4 separate regions of the Homo sapiens genome follow, and all the other regions are linked to region 4. The links are contacts of gene promoters, found by promoter capture Hi-C in human tissues and cell types (Jung and others, 2019). All regions are on one chromosome and are shown on one strand. The core of a region is centred on a gene start or on the middle of the fragment in contact, and the rest is flanking DNA. Distances in the headings are between cores, read along the strand shown.

Evidence for each region. Contacts are between HindIII fragments. The study calls those that stand out against the background at their distance.
Region 1: a fragment that was not itself captured here is called in contact with the fragment with the promoter of BLVRB in region 4 in 1 of the 25 tissues and cell types used here (lymphoblastoid cells).
Region 2: a fragment that was not itself captured here is called in contact with the fragment with the promoter of BLVRB in region 4 in 1 of the 25 tissues and cell types used here (hippocampus).
Region 3: a contact is called between a fragment that was not itself captured here and the fragment with the promoter of BLVRB in region 4, in 2 of the 25 tissues and cell types used here (aorta and liver).

What each region holds. Positions count from the first base shown.
Region 1 is chr19:40,659,317-40,662,112 of GRCh38, reverse strand. No RefSeq gene overlaps it. Among named protein-coding and RNA genes, the nearest start is that of NUMBL, 30 kb to the left of the region's middle. The HindIII fragment of the contact is 4,666 bases long and covers 1-2,796 here.
Region 2 is chr19:40,638,662-40,641,361 of GRCh38, reverse strand. No RefSeq gene overlaps it. Among named protein-coding and RNA genes, the nearest start is that of LTBP4, 39 kb to the right of the region's middle. The HindIII fragment of the contact is 3,860 bases long and covers 1-2,700 here.
Region 3 is chr19:40,298,886-40,301,585 of GRCh38, reverse strand. It overlaps a transcript of C19orf47 not described here and the pseudogene RNU6-945P. Among named protein-coding and RNA genes, the nearest start is that of AKT2, 15 kb to the right of the region's middle. The HindIII fragment of the contact is 5,785 bases long and covers 1-2,700 here.
Region 4 is chr19:40,464,467-40,467,166 of GRCh38, reverse strand. It overlaps BLVRB (biliverdin reductase B), which reads left to right and starts at 1,422. Exons shown (of 5, transcript NM_000713.3): 1 at 1,422-1,557. The coding sequence starts at 1,479. It overlaps SPTBN4 (spectrin beta, non-erythrocytic 4), which reads right to left and starts at 166. Exons shown (of 36, transcript NM_020971.3): 1 at 1-166. RefSeq lists a silencer at 1,008-1,207 and an enhancer at 2,229-2,348. The HindIII fragment of the contact is 35,109 bases long and covers 1-2,700 here.

The sequences.
Region 1 (2,796 bases), core at 155-2,654, 190 kb before region 4:
TATTACCAAGGTAACATTTATTTCCTCCCTCAACACTGGTTTTGTTTTAACAGCTTTACTGAGGTATAATCTACCTGTCATAAAATTCACCTATTATAAGTGATTTACTGATTTTGGGTGATTTTACAGTTCTGCAGCCATCACAGCCAATTCAAGAACATTTCCATCACTCTGAAAAGATCCCTTCTGCCCATTTGCAGTCGCTCCCTATTCCCTGTCCCAGCCCCAGGCAACCACTGGTCTACTTTCTGTCCCATACATATTCTCTTCTTCATTTTACAAGCATTTTCTGAATATTTATTTTTATCAGCTATTGAGGGCTGAGGGTACACAATGAAACTCACAGGCCCTGCCTTCAGGGAACTCAGAGTCTGGTTATTGTAATAGCTGATGGGAAAATATGTCCATGCACTAATTTCTTCATTCATTCAAAAAACATTTATTGGCCAGGCACTGTGGCTTGTGCCTGTAATCCCAGCACTTTGGGAGGCTGATTGGGGAGGGTCACTTGAGGCCAGGAGTTCAAGACCAGCCTGGAAAATATAGTGAGACCCCCCCCCCCACCCCGATCTCTACAAAAAAATTTTTTTTTTTAATTATCAAGGTGTGGTGGTGCACACCTATAGTCCCAGTAACAGGAAGCTGAGGTGGGAGGATTGCTTGAGCCCAGGAGGTCGAGGCTGCAGTGAGCCATGATTGTGCCACTGCACTCCAGCCTGGGTGACAGAACAAGACCATCTCTACAGAAAAAAAAAAAAAAAAAAAAAAGAGAGAAAAAGAAGGGTCTTCCAAAAATTCATGGAAAATGTGTATTATGAAAAAACTATGCATGGAGTTCAATTTTTTTTTTTTGCACCAAAATAAATTCATACTAACTTGTTATAACTTGTCTGAACAGGACCTAGTTTGAGACACTAAAATAAAACATCAGATTGAAAAGAGCCCCTATCAGAGCAACACGAATTCTAAAATTGAAGCAAGAACAAGCATCAAATTGATGGTGAAGCTTGGGTGGAAGAATGATGAAATCATTGATGTTTTCCAAAAACTTGACAGTGCCCCAGAGAAATCAGCCATTTACAAATGGATAACTCGTTTTAAGAAGGGACAAGTTCGGGCGTGGTGGTTCACGCCTGTAATCCCAATACTTTGGGAGGCTGAGGCCAGCGGATCATTGGAGCTCAGGAATTCGAGACCAGCCTGGGTAACATGGTGAAACCCCATCCGTACAAAAAATACATAAATTAGCTGGGTGTGGTGGTGCACACTTGTAGTTCCAGCTACTCAGGAGGCTGAGGTGGGAGGATCACTTGAGTCTGGGAGGTAGAGGTTGCAGTGAGCCGTGATTGCGCCACTGCACTCCAGCCTGGGTCATGCTGAAGATGAAGCCCACCGTGGCATACCATCCACATCAATTTTTGCAGAAAAAAATTAAATTTGTTTATGCCTTAATTAAAGAGGACTTACAGTTAACAGCAGAAACAATAGCCAACACCATAGACATCTCAATTGGTACAGCTTACACAATTCTTTTTTCTTTTTTTTTTTTTTTTTTTTTGAGACAGGGTTCTCATACTGTCGCCCAGGCTGAGTACAGTGGTGAGATTGTGGCTCACTGCAGCCTCAACCTCCTGGGCTCAAGCGATCCTTCCACCTCAGCCTCCGAAGTAGTTGGAACTACAGGTGCGTGCCAGCACGTTCAGCTAAGTGTCACACGCGTCCCTGTGAAGAGACCACCAAACAGGCTTTGTGTGAGCAACAAGGCTGTTTATTTCACCTGGGTGCAGGCAGGCTGAGTCCAAAAAGAGAGTCAGCAAAGGGTGGTGGGATTATGATTAATTCTTATAGGTTTTGGGATAGGCGGTGGAGTTTGGAGCAATGTTTTGCGGGCAGGGGGCGGATCTCACAAAGTTCATTCTCAAGGATGGGAAGAATTACAAAGAAACTTCTTAAGGGTGGGGGAGATTACAAAGTACATTGATCATTAGGGTGGGGCAGAAACAAATCACAATGGTGGAATGTCATCAGTTAAGGCTATTTTCACTTCTTTTGTGGCTCTTCAGTTGCTTCAGGCCACCTGGATGTATACGTGCAGGTCACAGGCGATATGATGGCTTAGCTTGGGCTCAGAGGCCTGACACTAAATTTTCGTATTTTTTGTAGAGATGGGGGTCTCATTAGGTTTCCCAGGCTGGTCTTGAACTCCTGGACACAAGTGATCCTCCTGCCTCATTCTCCCGAACTGCTGGGATTACAGGCTTGAGCCACCTCACCCGGCCTCAGCTTACACAATTCTGACTGAAATTAAAGCTAAACAAACTTTCCACTCGATGGGTGCCAGAACGGTCGCACCCAGATCAGCTGCAGAGAAGAGCAGAGCTTTCCATGGACATGCTAAACAAGTGAGATCGAGATCCTAATGCATTTCCTTGAAGGATTGTAACGGGAAATGATACATGGTTTCACGGGTGCAATCCTAAAGACAAATCGTAATCAGAGAATGATTGCCAAGAGCGGGGAAGTGATCCAGTCAAGGCAGAAGCACACTGGTCAAGAGCAAAGGTCATAGCAACAGTTTTTGGGGATGCTCAAGGCATTTTGCTGGTTGACTTTCTGTAGGGTCAAAGAATAATAAGATCTGCTTATTATGAGAGTGTTTTGAGAAAGTTAGCCGAAGCTTTAGTAGAAATAAGCCTGGGAAGCTTCACCAGAGAGTTCTTCTCCAGCATGTCTACGCTTCTGCTCATTCTCCTCATCAAACGAGCAATTTTACAAGTTTTGATGGGAAATTATTAG
Region 2 (2,700 bases), core at 144-2,643, 170 kb before region 4:
GAAATGAACAATATTAATAGTCAGAAAAGAAATGTAAACAGTGGAGATTTTCTTTTCTTGAACCTCATATACGTAAAGTCTGCCAGTAAAAATTAAATTTAAAAGTAAACATTACAGTACTAAAAAAAAAAAGAAAGAAAAATAGCACTACTATTTATTCAAAGTTTATTGAAAAATTCGAAGTTGGAACTTGGGTTTTTGGGTTACAGTCTGATATAAAATTGTTATGTAAATAGTTGTGAGTTTTTTTCTTCTTGAGGAGAGAGAGACTGGGAGGGAGGGAGGAAACAGGAAGAGAGACAGACAGAGAGACAGACACAGAGTGAGACACAGTTGACCCCTTCACATGGGGCCCTGGGCACTTAGAATTCACCCTGCAAAGCCCCCCCGAAGTCAGGACTTGGTGTGGGGTGTTGCAGAAATGTTTCCTCCCCCTGCCCGGGCTCCGCTGGGAAGCCACGTCCCCCACCCCTGCCCTTCCTCCCACCCACAGCCTGCCTTCTCTCTGGGGACCTCTGTGGAGCTGCCTGGAACATGCGTGGGGTGACATGCATAGCAAGCTGGGGGAAGCAACCAAGGTGGTGGCCAGGCCCCTTGAAGACATAAAAGCACATTGCATTGGGAGGGAGGGACCCCGGGGGGCTGAGAATGTCCTGTTGCTTAAACTGGATGGAGGGGACACTGGGTGGTGGGTGCAGCTCCTCGTTTTCAGCAGTGGTTTCTTGAAGTAGACCCATATTCAGGAAAGTACAAACCGTAAGTGTAACCGCTGGAGGAATTATCACCGATTGAACACACCTGTGTCACCAGCCACCAGCCCAAGAAGCAATATCTCCAGCCCCCCAGAAGCCCCCTCGGCGCTCCCTTATCACCTGCCCTCCCTCCAAGGTCATTATCACCCTCACTTCTGACAGCATAGATTGGTTGTGCCTGTTTTGAATTCATGTAAATGCAATCTGAAAATATGTTCTTTTTAGCATCTGGCTTTTTTCAGTCAGCACCGTGAAAAAAATTCATCCTGGTTGTCGTGTGCAGTTACAGGTTATTCTCATTGCAGCACACACACATTGCAGGCCACTGTGGGATCAGTTTATCCATTCTTCTGCTGGTGGTGAGGGACTGAGCCAAGGGGGCCAGGCGCGGTGGCTCACACCTGTAATCCCAGCACTTTGGGAGACTGAGGTAGATGGATCACTTGAGATCAGCAGTTCGAGACCAGCCTGGCCACATGGTGAAACCCCGTCTCTACTAATAATACAAAAATTAGCTGGGGGTGGTGGCGGGTGCCTGTAGTCCCAGCTACTCGGGAGGCTGAGGCAGGAGAATTGCCTGAACCTGAGAGGAGGAGCTTGCTGTGAGCCGAGATCGTGCCACTGCACTCCAGTCTGGGCAACAAGAGTGAAAAAACTCCGTCTCAAAAAAAAAAAAAAAGAGAAACTGAACCTAGTGGAAAGAGTCCCCTAGGCAGAGGGAACAGCCAGTGCCAAGGTCCTGGGGTGGGATGGGAACATGTCTGGATCTTAGAGAAACAACAAGGAGATCCGTGTTGCTGCAGAGGAGCGTGTGGGGGGTGGAGGGGAGGTGAGGTCAGAGAGGGAACAAGAAGCAGACGGTGCAGAGTCTGCTGGACCACAGTGAGGACTTTGGCTCTTACTTTGAATGAGATTGGCGGAACACAGTGGCTCAGGCCTGGAATCCCAGCATTTTGGGAGGCCGAGGTGGGTAGATAAGTTGAGCCCATAAGTTCAAGACCAGCTTGGGCAATAAGGGAGGCCTCGTCTCTATCAAAAAATTGGCTGGGTTGTGGTAGCCCTGGAGGCCTGGAGGATGGCTTGAGCCGAGGAAGTCTAGGCTGCAGTGAGTCATGACTTGCACCACTGCACTCCAGCCTGGGCAACAGAGTGAGACCCTGTCTCAAAAAAAAACAAAAAAAAAATGAGCAAAATAATCTTTGAGTGAGATGGAGCCACAGGAAAGTTTTGAGCAGCAGAGGGAGTTGAGTTGACTTGGTTATTCCCAGAGTCCCTCTATCTGCATGACGGGGAGAGATTGTGGGGCCAGGAGTAGGAACTCCAAACCCTAGGAGGAGGGTAAGATATGGGTGGCAGCTATGGAGGTGGTAAGAAGTATTTGGCCTCTGAATACATTTTTTCTTTGTTTGTTTTTGAGAGGGAGTCTCACTCTGTCACCCAGGCTGGAGTGCAGTGGTGCAATCTGAGCTCACTGCAACCTCCACTTCCTGGATTCAAGCAATTCTCCTACCTCAGCCTCCCAAGTAGCTGGGATTACAGGCGTGCACCACAATGCCTGGATAACTTCTTCTTCTTTTTTTTTTTTTTTTTTTTTGTATTTTTGGTAGAGATGGGGTTTCACCATGTTGGCCAGGCTAGTCTCAAACTTGTTGCCTCAAGTGATCCGTCTGCCCCAGCCTCACAAAGTGCTGGGATTACAGGTGTGAGCCACCATACCTGGCCCTGAATACATTTTTTGTGTATGTGATTAATGATGTATTTTATTTACTTCTACCATTTTGCTTTGTGATTCTAGTGTCCTCATTTTTCTACGTTTATTTATTTTTTCATGCTCATTTAAGCTTCTTTGAATTGGCTGCATTTTTTGTTTAGTTTTGTCTTATGTTTTCTTATTCTTTGTTTTCCCTCTACTAGTTTGGAATCTATGCACCATTTCTTTCTTTTTGTA
Region 3 (2,700 bases), core at 83-2,582, 170 kb after region 4:
GGTGGATCACGAGGTCAGGAGTTTGAGACCAGCCTGACCAACATGGCGAAACCTCGTCTCTACCAAAAATACAAAAATTAGCTGGGCATGGTGGTGGGTTCCTGTAATCCCAGCTACTCGGGAGGCTGAGGCAGGAAGAATCTCTTGAACCTGGGAGGCGGAGGTTGCAGTGAGCCAAGATCATGCCACTGCACTCCAGCCTGGGCGACAGAGCGAGACTCTGTCTCAAGAATAAATAAATAAATAAATAAATAAATAAATAAATAAATAAAAGCCTCTCAAGGTTATGAAGCCAGGGACTTGCCATCAAACTATGCCTATGGCACTATAATACTGTAGGTATTAAAAAAAAATTATAATCTGTCAGCTCAGTCCCATGTAATTCTTATTCTTCCTGATGTTGTTAGCAGGGTTTCTTTTTCTTTTTATTTTCTGAGACAGAGTCTCGCTCTGTTACCCAGGCTGGAGTGCCTCGGTTCAGTGTAACCTCCACCTCCCGGGCTCAAGCGATTCTCGTGCCTCAGCCTCTGGAGTAGCTGGGATTACAGGTGTGCACCACCACACTCAACTAATTTTTTTGTTTTGTTTGTATTTTTAGTAGAGATCGGGATTCTCTATGTTGGCCAGGCTGGTCTCGAGCTTCTGGCCTTAAATGAACCGCCTGCCTGGGCCTCTCAAAGTGCTAGTATTACAGGCATGAGCCACCACACCTAGTCGAGTCAGCAGTTTTCTGAGTCCAGTTTTTCCACTAGAGTTTTGGAAATTCTTACCCAGTCCAATGTTATAATCATAAGTTTATTAGGACCTTCTATTCCAGACTACTTGTCAGAGTCATTTCCATGAATCTTGAAGAAGCAATTTGGGGCAATAGCTGATTGCAAATGCTTTTAGAGAAGAACCAAAACACTATTGATGAGCAAGACAGAATGGCCATGGTTAAAAAATCTGATGAGAGTTCATTATAACCAGCAATTGACAAGGAAACCTGGTTATTTCTGTGGCATATATCATGTTAACATAGTAACAAAATTATGACTTATAACATTAGATTTCTAGGAATCTCATAATTTTTAGAACATTCATATCAGTAACATATCCAGAAATATAACTTTTTTTTTTTTGAGATGGTGTCTAGCTGTGTCGCCCAGGCTGGAATGCAGTGGTGCGATCTTGGCTCACTGCAACCTCCGCCTCCTGGGTTCAAGCAATTCTCCTGCCTCACCCTCCCAAGTAGCTGGGATTACAGGTGCCTGCCACCACACCCAGCTAATTTTTGTATTTTTAGTAGAGACGGGGTTTCATTGTGTTGGCTAGGCTGGTCTTGAACTCCTGACCTCGTGATCCACCTGCCCTGGCCTCCCAAAGTGCTGGGATTACAAGCACGAGCCATTGCACCCGGCCATATAACTTATTTAAAAAAATGTTTTTTATCACCCTCATCACCTCCTACCCTGGGTTCATAAATATAAACGTTTAGCATCATTTATTATTTGACAATGTTTCCCATTTAATTTAACATTTCAAATAAGCCTAATTAGTCTAATATCTCTCTTTTTTCAGATGGAGTTTCGCTCTGTTACCCAGGCTGGAGTGCAATGGTGCGATCTCGGCTCTCTGCAACCTCCGCCCCCTGGGTTCAAGCGATTCTCCTGCCTCAGCCTCCCGAGTAGCTGGGATTATAGGTGCCCGTCACCACGCCTGACTAATTTTTTTTGTATTTTTAGTAGAGACAGGGTTTCGCCATGTCGGCCAGGCTGGTCTTAAACTCCTGACTTCAGGTGATCCACCTGCCTCGGCCTCCCAAAGTACTGGGATTACAGACGTGAGCCACCGTGCCTGGCTAATGTCTCTCTTTTTCGAGGTGAGAAACACATCTTTTGAGCTTTCCCAGGGGCTCAACTGGCAAATTCCAAAGTTAATTCAAGGTCAAAAGACTGAATTTAGAATTTGATTTTAGGAAGTTTGTCAAAAATGTAAAAAAAGATTTAAAACACTTGATGAGTGCTTGCTTTGGCAGCACATATACTAAAGTTGGAATGATGCAGAGAAGATTAGCATGGCCCCTGTGCAAGGATAACTCACAAATTCATGAGGCCTTCCATATTTTTTGAAATTAAGAAAAGAAAAAAGGAAAAATTTGATTAATAGGATCTCAGGTAACTATTAATTTAGGTCACTAATAATTAGTCTGGTTACCAGAGTGATTATTGAATTATATAGTGATCTGGGATCCTATTTAATCAACTGTTCATTTTATAATCATTTAATATTTTATGATTTAAGTATTTAATGAGCATTTAATATTTATTAATATTCATTTCATAATCACCAGGGTAATTATTAAAAGGCTTTGAAGGCAAATAAAGTTATATAGTTGTAAAAATATATATATTAGCTCTCTTAATAGGATTTTATTTTCTTGGAAAGTAATTGAAGGCCTGATAAAAGATAACATGAAAGAGAAAATTATTTTGATAAGACATAATTTTTTAAGGCAGATTACTTAAAAGGTGAAAAAGAAAATCTTTCACTCTTTTTTATCAATACTACAAGAAAATCTTGCATTTTAAAAGATAATGCCAAATTCTAGTTTTGCATCAATGTACCCTTGATATTAGGGCTCATTTTTAAGACATAATAAATTCACTCTCATTTTTAAGACATAATAAATTCACTCAATTTTGGTCAGTTTGACCACAA
Region 4 (2,700 bases), core at 173-2,672:
GATCCGCATGCGCCGCCGCGCCTCCCTCTCTCGCGCCGCCGCCGCGCTCAGCGCGCCCCCGGGACCCCCTCCCGCCCGCGGTCCCCGCGCCCCGCCGCCCGAGGCCCACGCGCAGTCACACCCGGCCGCGGCGTGGGGTGCACGGCTGCACTCGCGAGGGCACGGCGGCGTCACGCGCTGCACACTCCCACGGGGTCACGCTCGCCACGCTGCCATACTCGCGGGGGCCTCGGCGCACAAACTCACCCCCGCATCCACGCGCTTGCGCGCCGTCACTCCCTCCTGTGGGGTCTCACGGGGTCACACCCTCACGCCGTCACACGCGGCGTCCACACTGGAACGGTGTCACCCACCACCACACAAATCCAATAGGGTAACCACCGCCCACGCGGCGTCACACACAAATGCACCTGTCACACACAGCCGCACACTCCCCGGCAGTCACAAACAGTGTCATAGGCCCACACATCACGCACAGCTTCACAGCCACAGTGTCACACACTCTACACACTCGAACCTTCATAGCAGTCGCCCCGCACATGCTGCACCGCCGCACCTCACACATCATAGTCACAGGGGGTCACAATGAGCAGCTCAACACAGACACCCACAGCCACACACTCGAATGGGGTCCCGGTGTCACACATCCTTACACGAGACATGTGGTGTCACACACTGTCACAGTCTAATTAGTCTCACGCTTCCATGTAGCACACCTCACACGTCCCACACCCTATCGTACAGGCTGACGCAGTGTCACCCACGGTGTCACCACAAGGTCACAAAAGAACAGAATCAATGCCTGCCACACGTGGTGTCACGCACGTGTAGTCACACTGTAACACGGGATCACACTCAGAGGATGACACAAGGTGTCACCCACAGTCCTGCTTGCCCTCCGGGTCACTGAGTCACACAGGGTCATATAAGTGCATAGGTACGCCGTGACACAGTGTCTTACATCCAAGTGCACACACACACTCTGTCCTCCTAACTTTCTCCCCTTGCTGGTTCTGGGAGGCCCTGGGGCTTAGAGTGCGCCCCAGATCCGCTCCAGGCTCCGGGAGAGGGGGCGTGAGCTACGAGAGGCCGTGGGTGAGGCTCGCCTGGCCCCGCCCCTCTCCGGGAGGTGGAGCGCGGAGGCAGGGCGCTGAGTGACAAGTTATCTCGGCTCCGTCCACTCTATTTGTTGCTATGTGGAGGCGTGGCCTTCTGTGGCCCCGCCTTCCAGTCTAAGTGGCGCGCAGAGAGGGCGGTGCTGGACGGTGAGCGAATGCAAGCTGACGCCTGCCCCGCCCATCCGCGTTAGGCCCCGCCCCTTGACCTGAGCCGCGGGCGGAGAGTCTGAGGCGTGGCCCTTCGAGCCAGCTCCGCCCCGTTGTTCCTGGCTTGAGTAGGGCAGAGAGCACCGCCCAGCAGCCAGTGGGTTCCCGCGCGTGCCGAGACTCTGAGGCCTTGCACCCCCACGATCCCGTACGATGGCCGTCAAGAAGATCGCGATCTTCGGCGCCACTGGCCAGACCGGGCTCACCACCCTGGCGCAGGCGGTGCAAGCAGGCATGAGCCGGGGCGGGCGGGGCATGTCACGGGACAGACGGGCAGAACTTTAGGAAGGGGCACCATGGGGTCGGGCCGAGGCTGATTGGGGCCATGAGCGCCCCAGCCAGGTGTATGAGGACTCAGGGGCCAAAGCAAGTGGCCACGGGGGCAGAAATGGGGAAAGATGTGAGATCCAAGTTTATGTGAGTCCAAGCCAGAGAGGAATTGGCCCCGGGAGCCCCGGGAGGACTCCACTGGCACAGTCGTGTGTAAGTCCAGGGCTCTTATGCAATGCGGTTGTCATTATTGTGGTTGTGGTGGTGGTTGTTCGCACTCCCAGAGAGGATTTACTAAGCCAAGCTTGCTCTGTCGTCTCTTCACATGAGAGCTTTCAAAATGGGGTGGGAACTAGTATCACCCTACTTGACAGATGAGAAAACTGAGACCCAGAGAGTGACTTGCCCAATATCACACAGCTGTTAACTGACAGGACTGGGATTTGAACTCAGCTCATGCTCTTAACCACCACAAGTCCCCAGGCTGGAAACTGAAAAAGTTGGGGGGTCAGGTTGCTGCGAGTACCTAATGGGAAGGAGTCACAGAGAGACATGAGTGAAGACTTGGGGACAGCAGTCCTGGGAAAGTCAATGAGGGCTGAAAATTTGGAGTTGCCCCAGGAGAGAGGGCAGAAAAGGGGATAACCATCCCCCAGCACTCCCTGCCCCCACAGCCCAGACTTGACCAACTCCCAGCTGGGCCTGGGACTTCCAGATATGGGGCCCCACCCTTGCAGGCCTTGGGGACGCTGAAGATATTGACTATCTGCGTGCCCCAAAAGGGTGGAGGCCAACAGGACCCCACTCTGCTGTCTCCCTTGGAGGGACTCTGAAAGTTCTTCTCTAGGTCCATAACTCTCCCCTTCCCCAGGGAGACCACGTGAGGATCTTGACTTGTGGAGAATGGGGAGCTGTGGGCCTCTCAGTAAAAACCAGTTTGCTGATAAGCATTTATTCGGGAGTAATGGAGAAGGAAGTAAGAGAGAGAAGTTGAGAGGCGCTGAGTCACCTGGAAATCCACTAATTCCACCGAATTCCACTCGCCCACCCTGCTGGTCATAGCTGGGACTGCACTCAGAGGGTTAAGAACTGGAGCCTAGGGAGC